Regions from separate parts of the Homo sapiens genome. Here regions 1 and 3 are each linked to region 2. Evidence: promoter capture Hi-C in 16 types of primary human blood cells and fetal thymus (Javierre and others, 2016). All regions are on one chromosome and are shown on one strand. Each heading gives the region's core, a stretch centred on a gene start or on the middle of the fragment in contact. The rest is flanking DNA. Distances are from core to core; before and after follow the strand shown. Region 1 holds the start of AP1G1 (adaptor related protein complex 1 subunit gamma 1). Region 2 holds the start of ATXN1L (ataxin 1 like). Region 3 overlaps AP1G1 (adaptor related protein complex 1 subunit gamma 1).

Region 1 (3,240 bases), core at 1-2,500, 38 kb after region 2:
CGCTCTGCCAGGAGCAGTCGCCTCCTCCTTGGCAAATAGTCCTCGGCAGGGTCCGAGTTCTTGGATAATTCGAGAGAAAAGGCACGATAAGTTGCAGTACGAGGACACGGAAACGACCAGGAGAGGAGGACAGGGAGCGAAGTTTCCTCAATAGTGTGTGAAGTTAGTTAAAAACTCCCTCCTTCCTCAGGATCCCTCCGCCTGCGGTAGCGGTGGTGAGGCCGAGGGAGCCGCCATTTTGGATGTTCGGTTCCTGCTGCCACTGCTGCCGCCGCCCCCGGAGCTGCTGGTTTCATTCGAGGTTTCGGGCCGGTGAGTGTCACTCCCGGCGCTGAGAGCATATTGCTGCTTTTGCCCCGCCGCTGCCGCGGGCGCTCGACCGGAAGCTTCCTTTCAGTTTCAGGGGTCCAGTCCCAGGCTGTGGGTGTTGAGAAGAGAAGACAGAGAAGCTGGGCCAGGAGAGGCCGGGAGCCCCAGGGGCTGCTCCGACTTCTGGAGGGCCGACCCCGAGGCCTCGGACCGGGAGGTTCCGCGCGCCGCGGCGTTCCGTGTTGTGGCGTTGCCCCGCCGGTACGGGCCTCCTTGAACCCTTGACTTTCTCAGGCTGCGATCTTTGAGGGCTCATTCAGGGAGCCTGGGGTTTAGCGGGGCGGGCCCCACCCCCGCGTGTCTTCTCTGAGCCACGTATCAGCGTTCTTGTGTCTTGTACCCGTGTCAGGTCTGTCAGATAACTCCCAGCATATCCAAATGCCCAGTTAATCGCTGCCTGCCCCTGCAGTGCCGTCCTCTCGGAACCGGACATCGGCCTCGCCTCTCTCTAACCTTCCGACCAACTTCTTTCCCAATTTTTCGTGTGTGTGTGTATATGTTGTTGTTTTGTTTTTTTCAACCTACCTGCGAGTATACTGTTTACCCTTTTCTCAGCTCCTGGCCCTGCGGACGTCAGCGTCTAATAATTCTCCCGGTCTTCCTGATTGCCTGAAAGAGTCGGGACGGTTCGGTTGATTGTGTTTCCCGGTTAGGACTCGGTGTAGGAGATCCATCGAACCACTCGCTCAGGGTAATGTTTATGAAGCAGATTATGTTTATGAAGCAGATTAAATGGCTTTTGGGAGGCAAGAGCTGTCAAATGTTTTCTCATATGTGGATTCCCTCCCTGTGCTGAATACTTAGCTTTTTGGTGCTTACTGACACTTGTGTGGTATTTTTTTTTCTCCCCTATTATATATCCCTGAGCACGGAAATCTGTCCATGGAGAAAAATATTAATCTGAGGTAGGTAGAAAGGAGAGTTGGGCTGCTTTACAGTGATTAGTTAACAGAAGGGAGGAGTTAGTGCTTTCTTAGTGACCTTAACTTTGAAGTGTTTGTACAGTAATGATCTTTGCTGACTGATTCTAAAAAATACTTGTAATGATTTCATGTATTGGGTTTTTCTGGGGATAGCTGAATTTTAAATATTCACTTCCACCGTTCCCTAGAATACTTGTCAAATACCTAACTTGTCACACACCCTAACTTTCACGTTTGAAAAATATGAACCCTCTAAGTACTCGTAATCTCGTCACTTTTATTCTAAAGGCATGTTTGCAGTCTAGCATGCTTGAATAAAAAGTATGTCTTTATTTTTATTTATTTATTTTTTGAGACGAAGTCTCCCTCTGTCTCCAGGCTGGAGTGCAGTGGCACGGTCTCGGCTCACTGCAACCTACGCCTCCCGGGTTCAAGCAGTTCTCCTGCCTCAGCCTCCCAAGTAGCTGGGACTACAGGCACACGCCGCCACGCCCGGCTAATTTTTTGTTGTTGTATTTTAGTAGAGATGGGGTTTCATCATGTTGCCCAGGCAGATCTCGAACTCCTGAGCTCAGGTAATCCGCCCGCCTCGGCCTCCCAAAGTGCTAGGATTACAGGCGTGAGCCACCGTGCCTGGCAAAAAGTATTTCACAGTTATTCACTGATACATTTCCTACGTTTCAAGTTAGGCGAGTGTGATTGAATCACCCTTATTTCATCTCAGCCTGGGTTTTCACATCTGCAAAAGAGAAATTAACTTATTTGAGATCACAGTCTAGTGGTTGAAGTTTAAATTTATAACTTGAATTGAGTCAAGCTTTTTAATATTGCTAAGCCACTTATAGATGCATTATTATTATCAGGTTATTGAAATGAGATTGTAGATAAATTCCTCTATAGGTCATATGATGTCTCAGAAGAAAACAATATTTTCAGTTTAAATACTCAGTGATCTTGTTATTTAAGCAGATTTTTCAAAAATATATTAGTTACTATTAGATACGTGAGTTCTGTATTACCCTGAAGCAATGGAATTTTCTCTTTTGGTTTAAAGGAACTGTCAAACACTGAACACCTATGTAATGCTCACTCATTTAGTAAGTATGCCCTCGCAGTTACTACTGAAATGTTCCATTTCTGACTTAGACTTTTCAAGTAAGGTGTTAGAAGAGCTATCACATAGATGTTAGTTAACTCAGTGTTTTTCATGCTTTAATATATTGGTATTTAAATGTCATTCAGGCGGGCGCTCAGTGGCTCATGCTTGTAATCCCAACACTTTGGGAGGTGGAAGGTGGATCCCTTGAGCCCAGGAGTTGGAGGCCAGCCTGGGCAACCTAATGAGACTCCGTCTCTACCAAAATATTTAAAAATATTAAACTTTTAAAAATTCATTCTTAGATAGTTTGCATTCACTGTAGAAAGGGTCCTTTTGCCTTAACAAATTCCTAGCAAAGTGTTGTTTAGTGCACCATTGATCAGTGCATATTTGAATGTCTGCTTTGCGTTTAGGAAACCTCCGTTTTCTTTTGGGGGCAGTTGCTTGTTCTTTGGTCTGACCTCTGTCATTGATAGCAGTTCTAGATTTGAGGGCAGATTTTAGAGTGAAACTTTAAAGTACAGAATTTGCCAGGAATGCCTTGGTGATATTTCACCCCAGTGTTTATTTAAAAAAGGAGTTTTAAAAATCAGTGGTATGCAAACAAAACCAACTTCTTTATGATTTATAAAAACTCTTTTTTTTTTTTTTTATTATTTTTATTGTTTGAGACAGGGTCTCACTCTGTTGCCCAGGCTGGAGTGCAGTGGTCTCAGCTCACTGCAGCCTGGACCTCCTGGACTCAAGCGATCCTCCTGCCTCAGCCCTCCACGTAGCTGGGACTACAGGCGTGTGCTACCACGCAGGGCTAATTTTTGTATTTTTTGTATAGATAGTGTTTTGTCATGT
Region 2 (3,086 bases), core at 460-2,959:
AAACGCACAAATAAAAATGGAAGCTTTAACACTGTTCCCATATGAACAATGGGAAGCAGGAAAAATCAACTCTATGGATTTCCCCTTTATTCTGGGCCTATGAAAACATAAATGTGGAGTTATTTAAATGAAAAAAAGCAGCAGTAGATGAAAAAGAACAATTATTTATGTTTCTGGGGCAGAAAAAGAGGTCAGGGGGGAGTCACTCAAGGAGAAGACTTATTAAGAGATTTTCAGGGTTAAAAAAAAATGAGCATATGTGTGTGTGTATGTAAAATTTTCTGAGTGACAGTATACCAAGTGCTGAATCAGGTATGAAAGAAACTGAAAATATTGCCTTGGTCCTCAGCTGGCTAACACTGGTGAAACAAAACTACCACTAAACCATCACTATGTGAATCTACACTTGCCAGAAACGCAAAGCGAGAAAGAATGGAGCCTTAACCTCTGAAAACAGAGAAGGCAGTACAGATGAGTGAGTGCTCTGAGAAACTGACTATCCTGTCCAAGTCCTATAGAACACTCTAAGCCTCAACCCAAACCGAATGCAACATTTCTCTCTTAAGATTGGCAAGGTGCAGGTGTACACAAAAGGTGGAAGGATAGGAAAACACAGTGGGAAAACAAATTCCTAATTCCACAAACACATATTATTACACAGTGGCATAAATAATGACTCTTTTCTCCACCAGCAGCTTTAATAACTGAAAAGCAGCTTGCTTTCTTCTTCATTCCCAACAGAAACTGGGGTCACACTTCAATCCCAAAATGATCCTTGCTTTCTGTAACGAAAACTTTAAAGAAAACCTGCCTCCAGGTCACCGAGAAGTTAGCAAACACAGGCTAGTAAAGGGACCGAAAGAGGCAAAAGGTCTGCAGAAAGGAAAACAAAGAGCCAAGCCTGTGCGCCAGGTTCCCACAACGCAAAACACACTTAAGAATCCGAAACCTCCGCCTCTCGAGAACCTCACTGAGCATCTCAAAGGGAAAACGCAGCTTGTGACCCCAACCGAGCTAACAGGCTGTTCAGGAGAGTTGCCAACGCTGCTAGCAGAGCCCGGAACCAAGCTCCTCATCACGCTTGGGTCGGAATCAAGGGGCTGAACCCAGCTGGAGACCCAAATTCTCTGCGGGCGAGAGGTGCGCCCGACAGAAAGGGAGAAGCTTGTCAGAGACTACGGTTATGGCTCCCAGTGGTCCCGCAATCCTTGATCCAACAAGGGTAGGGCTCGAAATTGGGAATTCTGCGTTTAGAGAGTAGGGGGTCCACCCTTCACCAAGGGGGCAGGGGCGAGGCCCTGCAGGCGACGCTTCCTTGTTTGGGGGCCCTTCCCGCCCCACAGACTCGGACACCTTGGCTCGCAGGCACACAGCCTCCGGGGCGCCGGGGCCTGAGGCCACCTTCCAGGACAGGCCAGAGAGAAGCGCGAGGGGGTCTAGGTGCGGCCTCTCCCCTCCGTCTGTCCACGGTTCATGGGCCCCGGCCCGCCGGAGCAACGGGCTCCTGAGGGCCACTTCCTCCGGAGCACCGACCCCAGGCCTGCCTGGCCCCGGCGGCCACCACTTCCAGGGACACTCACCAGCCCATTTCACAGCGCTTCCCAGGATCCACTCACTCGTCCCGGAGCCGCCGCAACCGCGGCCGCCGCCATCCCCGGCCCCGGAGCCGCCCCACACCCAGCGCCCCCCACAGCCGGGCGCCCGGAGATGGCGTCAAGCTCGTCCCGCCCCCGGCGCGGAGAGATTGCGTCACGGCCGGGGTGGGAGAGCAACGCCCAGGACTCCCCGGGAAGGGAGGGTGCCACACTGCCTTCGCGTCGGGCGTTCCCTCTGGTGGGTGAACAAACTCCTCTCCCTGGGACCGGGTCACGTGAATAGGGCTGGGCCCGGCCCCCTCAGCCTGACCCCACAATGACCCCGCAATCTTTCCACCTCAGTAAATTTTGGGGGTTCCCAAACAGAGCCCCGGGGCGTGGTCATCGGCGACCCCCCATTTCCTGGACTTCTTGTCCTGACTTGTGCAGCCCCTTCTGGGGAACTTCGGGGGACCCCGAGGTGACCTAGGCTCAGGAGAAAAGGAGATACCTCTTACCTCTTGGGGACCCAGGTGGAGATAGGAAGTCTTCTTTTTTTCTTTTCTTTCTTTTTTTTGGAGACAGTTTCGCTCTTGTTGCCCAGGCTAGAGTGCAATGGCACGATCTCGGCTCACCCAACCTCCGCCTGCCAGGTTCAAGCAATTCTCCTATCTCAGCCTCCCGAGTAGCTGGGATTACAGGCATGCGCCACCACACCTGGCTAATTTTTTGTATTTTTAGTAGAGACAGGGTTTCTCCTTGCTGGTCAGGCTGGTCTCGAACTCCCGACCTCAGGTGATCCCCACACCTCGGCCTGCCAAAGTGCTGGGATTACAGGCGTGAGCCACCGTGCCAGGTCAATAGGAGCTCTGTAAGTGTTGAGAAGTGGCCCCCGAGGGAGCTAAGAGTGAACCCCACTCAGGATCTAGGGGAAGGTGACAAGGAGTGGAACACCTGAAAGTTTAGAGAGAGCCCGGGGTTTAGTACAGTGAGAAGCAGCTTGGTTTAGTGGAAAGAGGGCTTGACTACTCAGTGAAATATTATTCATTACAAATTAACTAATTATTCATTACAAATTAACTGGTCAACTTCATAGTAACATGAACATCTGATTAACTTAAGTGAAGACAAAAGTGAGCGCCAGTTGAATTTATGTTTGAATAACAACTGTGTTTTTGTTGTTGTTTGTTTTAAAGTATTAGGTTGGTGCAAAAGTAATTGCGGTTTTGGCCACCGAAATGGAGACTTTCAGTTTCTTCAAACTCTGTTCAATAAATAACAATTGGGCCAGGCGCGGTGGCTCACGCCTGCAATCCCAGCACTTTGGGAGGCCAAGGCCGGCGGATCACGAGGTCAGGAGATCGCAGACCATCCTGGCTAACACGGCGAAACCCCGTCTCTACTAAAAATACAGAAAATTAGCCGGGCATGGTGGCGGGCACCTGTACTCCCAGCTACTCGGGAGGCTGAAGCAGGAGAATGGCATGAACCCGGGAGGCAGAGCTTGCAGTG
Region 3 (3,156 bases), core at 518-3,017, 64 kb after region 2:
AAGAATTTCCATAGAAATCTGGACTTCTAGTTTCTCTTAGAAACATAGTAAGATTTGTGGAATGGAAATCTACATTTCCATATGTCAGTAGTGTGCTGCTTTTAGGCTGGGCCTGATTCTGTTTTTCCTCAGTTCTAGCCTTGCTTGCCATACCCAATTACCTGTGTAGGATATTCTTCCCTTCCATCTGTGTAGCATAGGACTGCACTTCTTTAGCTTCTCTAAATTTTACAATGTTTTCTGTACAGTCTTATACATCTTTTTAAAAAATTAAAAAAAAATTTCCTTTAAAACACAGGATTTTTAAGTCTTAACACATCTTTGGAGAAATATATTTGTAGGTTCTTTAGAGCTCTTGTTTCTGTTGCAAATAGTATCCTTTAAAATTTTAAATAATTATGTTGTAGATCTGTAGTGATATAATTGATTTTTAATAATATTTATCTACTTTGCCACATTATTGAACTTGGTTCTAAGAGTCTCTGTGGACGTCATTGTTTCCATGTAGTCAATACTACTATTGTCTGCAAACAATGGCAGTTCTTTTTTTTCCTTTGATATCCTTATACATTTTCTTATTTTCTTATTACACTGTACAGGTAGTACATTATTGCAAATAAGTGATGATAATAGCCACTCTTGTTAAAGCCGTAAACAAATGCTCTACAGTAATATGTGGGTGACTGTCATAGGGTTTAGTAGACACGCTTTCTCACATTAAGGAATTTTTTTCTTAAAATAAAGTACTTAAGCTAGTACTATTCCTTGAAAAGCCTTAGAATTAATGACCAGACCAGAAGCAATGAGCTATCCTTAAGCCTAGACTGTGGTCTCCAGATACTATTTTCAGCCCATTGGAAAGATGGCTGATCCCAAATCCAGGGTAAGGAAATGTACAAAATAAGCTTGAATGATGTTACTATGCCAGAAAGCAAGAAAGACTGCAAAGATCATGTCAGAAGGTTTCAGTAATCACCAGAAGAGGCAGTCATACCCCCAAAAGAGATAATTTGAGTATTAATAAGAATAATAATCGGCTGGGCATGGTGGCTCACACCTGTAATCCCAGCACTTTGGGAGGCCGAGGCAGGCAGATCACGAGGTCAGGAGTTCAATACCATCCTGGCCAACATGATGAAACCCTGTCTCTACTAAAAATACAAAAATTAACCAGGTGTGGTGTCAGGCGCCTATTAATCCCAGCTACTCAGGAGACTGAGGCAGGAGAATCGCTTGAACCCGGGAGGTGGAGGTTGCAGTGAGCCAAGACTGCGCCACTGCACTCCACCCTGGGCAACAGAGCGAGACTCCATCTCAAAATAATAATAAAAATAATAATAATAATAATAATAATTGTAGGCTGGGTGCGGTGACTAAACTTGTAATCTCAGTCTTTTGTGAGGCTGAGGCGGGCAGATTGCTTGAGCTCAGGAGTTCGAGACCAGCCTGACAAACATAGTGAAACCCCATCTCTACTAAAAATACAAAAATTAGCCGGGCATGGTGGCAGATACCTGTAATCCCAGGTATTCCGGAGGCTGAGGCTTGAGAATCACTTGAACCTGGGAGGCGGAGGTTGCAGTGAGGCGAGATCGTGCCACTGCACTCCATCCTGGTTGGCAGAGTGAGACTCTGTGTCAATAAAAAAAGGATAATAATTGCAATTGATTGAAATAAACGTTTATATTGCCTTTCCTTAGCAATAGTATGGCCTTCCTTCTGTATAGAGAAGTTTCTTCTTAGAGCTGTAGTCCAACTAATAAATGAAGGAATGAATTAGAATCTAATCATTTTGCAACCCATGATGATCGTCAGTTGCTGCTAATGTCACAAAAGAGAGACGACTACCAGAAATAATTATACGCCTCCTGGTGAAAGTTCATACCACTGGCTCTAAGTGGTGCATATTTGCAAAATGAGATCACAACAGAACAAAGCAAAACCTGAAAAGTCTGAATTTGATCAAGCCTCCTTAGGTATATAACCTAGATAAATTTTCCAGTATACAAAGACATGTATGTATAAGAGTATTCATTTCAGCAGTGTTTCTAATAGGTAAAACATTGCAAACAATCTGTTTGTCCTCAGATAATAGGTAAGTTTATATTCAAAAGTGGGATACTATGTAGCAGTGAGTTATGACTGAATTAGATCTTCTTGTCTTGATGTGAGTAATACTCAAAGCTGTTGAGTGAAAAGAGCGGGAATACAGTTTGATATTTGTTTAAAGTTTAAAACATTTAAAACCACCTGTCTCTCCATGTGTAGTAAGAATATATGGCATGGCAGTCATGAGCAGCAGTTTAGGGTTCTGATTACTTCTGGGATGGAGAAATGAGATTGAGGCCCAGTACACAGAAGACTTCATTTGAATTTGTAATGTAAAATAAATAGGGTGAAATGTTAAGATTTGATAAAGCTGCTTGGTGTGTCAGTGACAGTTACGTGATTTTTATGTATTTTGAGTGGAATATTTCATAATTTTCTCAAAAGAAAAAATTGGATTCACTAGGAATGTCAGGTTTTTGTTTTTTGTTTTTCTGCCAGAAGAATGAAGAAACAGACTCTGGTCTATATAGATTTTATGTTGTCAGGCCTACATAGTGGTAGTGCAGTTGTAACAAGCTTGCTTTTCAAAAATGATGATTTTAGGTGTGTGTGTGTATAAACCAGGCAGTTATTTCTGAATATTAAAAAGAAATAGGTTGGGTATGGTGCCCCATGCCTATAATCCCAGCACTTTGGGAGGCCAAGGCAGAAGGATCGTTTGAGGACAGGAATTCAAGACCAGCCCAGGTAACATAGTGAGACCTCATCTCTACAAAAGTAAAAAGTTAGGGTAGGGTACAGTGGCTCATGCATGTAATTCCAGCACTTTAGGAAGCTGAGGCAGGCGGATGGCCTGAGCTCAGGAGTTTGACACTAGCCAGGGCAATACGGTGAAACCCCGCTCCAGCCTGGGCGACAGAGTGAGACTCCAGCTCAAAAAAAAAAAAAAAAGTAAAAAATTAGCCTCATGTGGTGGCATATGCCTGTAGTTGTAGCTACTTGGGAGGCTGAGGCAGCAGGATGGCCTGAGCCCAAGAGTTAGAGGTTACTAACTGTGAACTAACAGTGAACTGTGATCATGCCATTGTACTTCAGCTTGGGCGATAG

What was found. Contacts are between HindIII fragments. The CHiCAGO score rates a contact against its expected background, and 5 or more counts as called.
Region 1: a contact is called between a fragment that was not itself captured here and the fragment with the promoter of ATXN1L in region 2, in 11 of 17 cell types (naive CD4 T cells, fetal thymus, activated CD4 T cells and 8 more). The highest score is 16.1, in naive CD4 T cells.
Region 3: a contact is called between a fragment that was not itself captured here and the fragment with the promoter of ATXN1L in region 2, in 3 of 17 cell types (activated CD4 T cells, total CD4 T cells and naive CD4 T cells). The highest score is 6.2, in activated CD4 T cells.

What each region holds. Positions count from the first base shown.
Region 1 is chr16:71,805,835-71,809,074 of GRCh38, reverse strand. It overlaps AP1G1 (adaptor related protein complex 1 subunit gamma 1), which reads left to right and starts at 241. Exons shown (of 23, transcript NM_001128.6): 1 at 241-312. LOC124903714 (a long non-coding RNA gene) reads right to left here and starts at 117. Exons shown (of 2, transcript XR_007065110.1): 1 at 1-117. RefSeq lists enhancers at 1-519, 463-1,110. The HindIII fragment of the contact is 1,723 bases long and covers 389-2,111 here.
Region 2 is chr16:71,844,599-71,847,684 of GRCh38, reverse strand. It overlaps ATXN1L (ataxin 1 like), which reads right to left and starts at 1,709. Exons shown (of 3, transcript NM_001137675.4): 1 at 1,581-1,709. RefSeq lists enhancers at 1,222-1,291, 1,093-1,864, 2,082-2,131, 1,865-2,637 and a silencer at 1,512-1,821. The HindIII fragment of the contact is 5,556 bases long and covers 1,167-3,086 here.
Region 3 is chr16:71,780,665-71,783,820 of GRCh38, reverse strand. All of the region lies in intron 2 of AP1G1 (adaptor related protein complex 1 subunit gamma 1), which reads left to right. Among named protein-coding and RNA genes, the nearest start is that of SNORD71, 24 kb to the right of the region's middle. The HindIII fragment of the contact is 1,720 bases long and covers 908-2,627 here.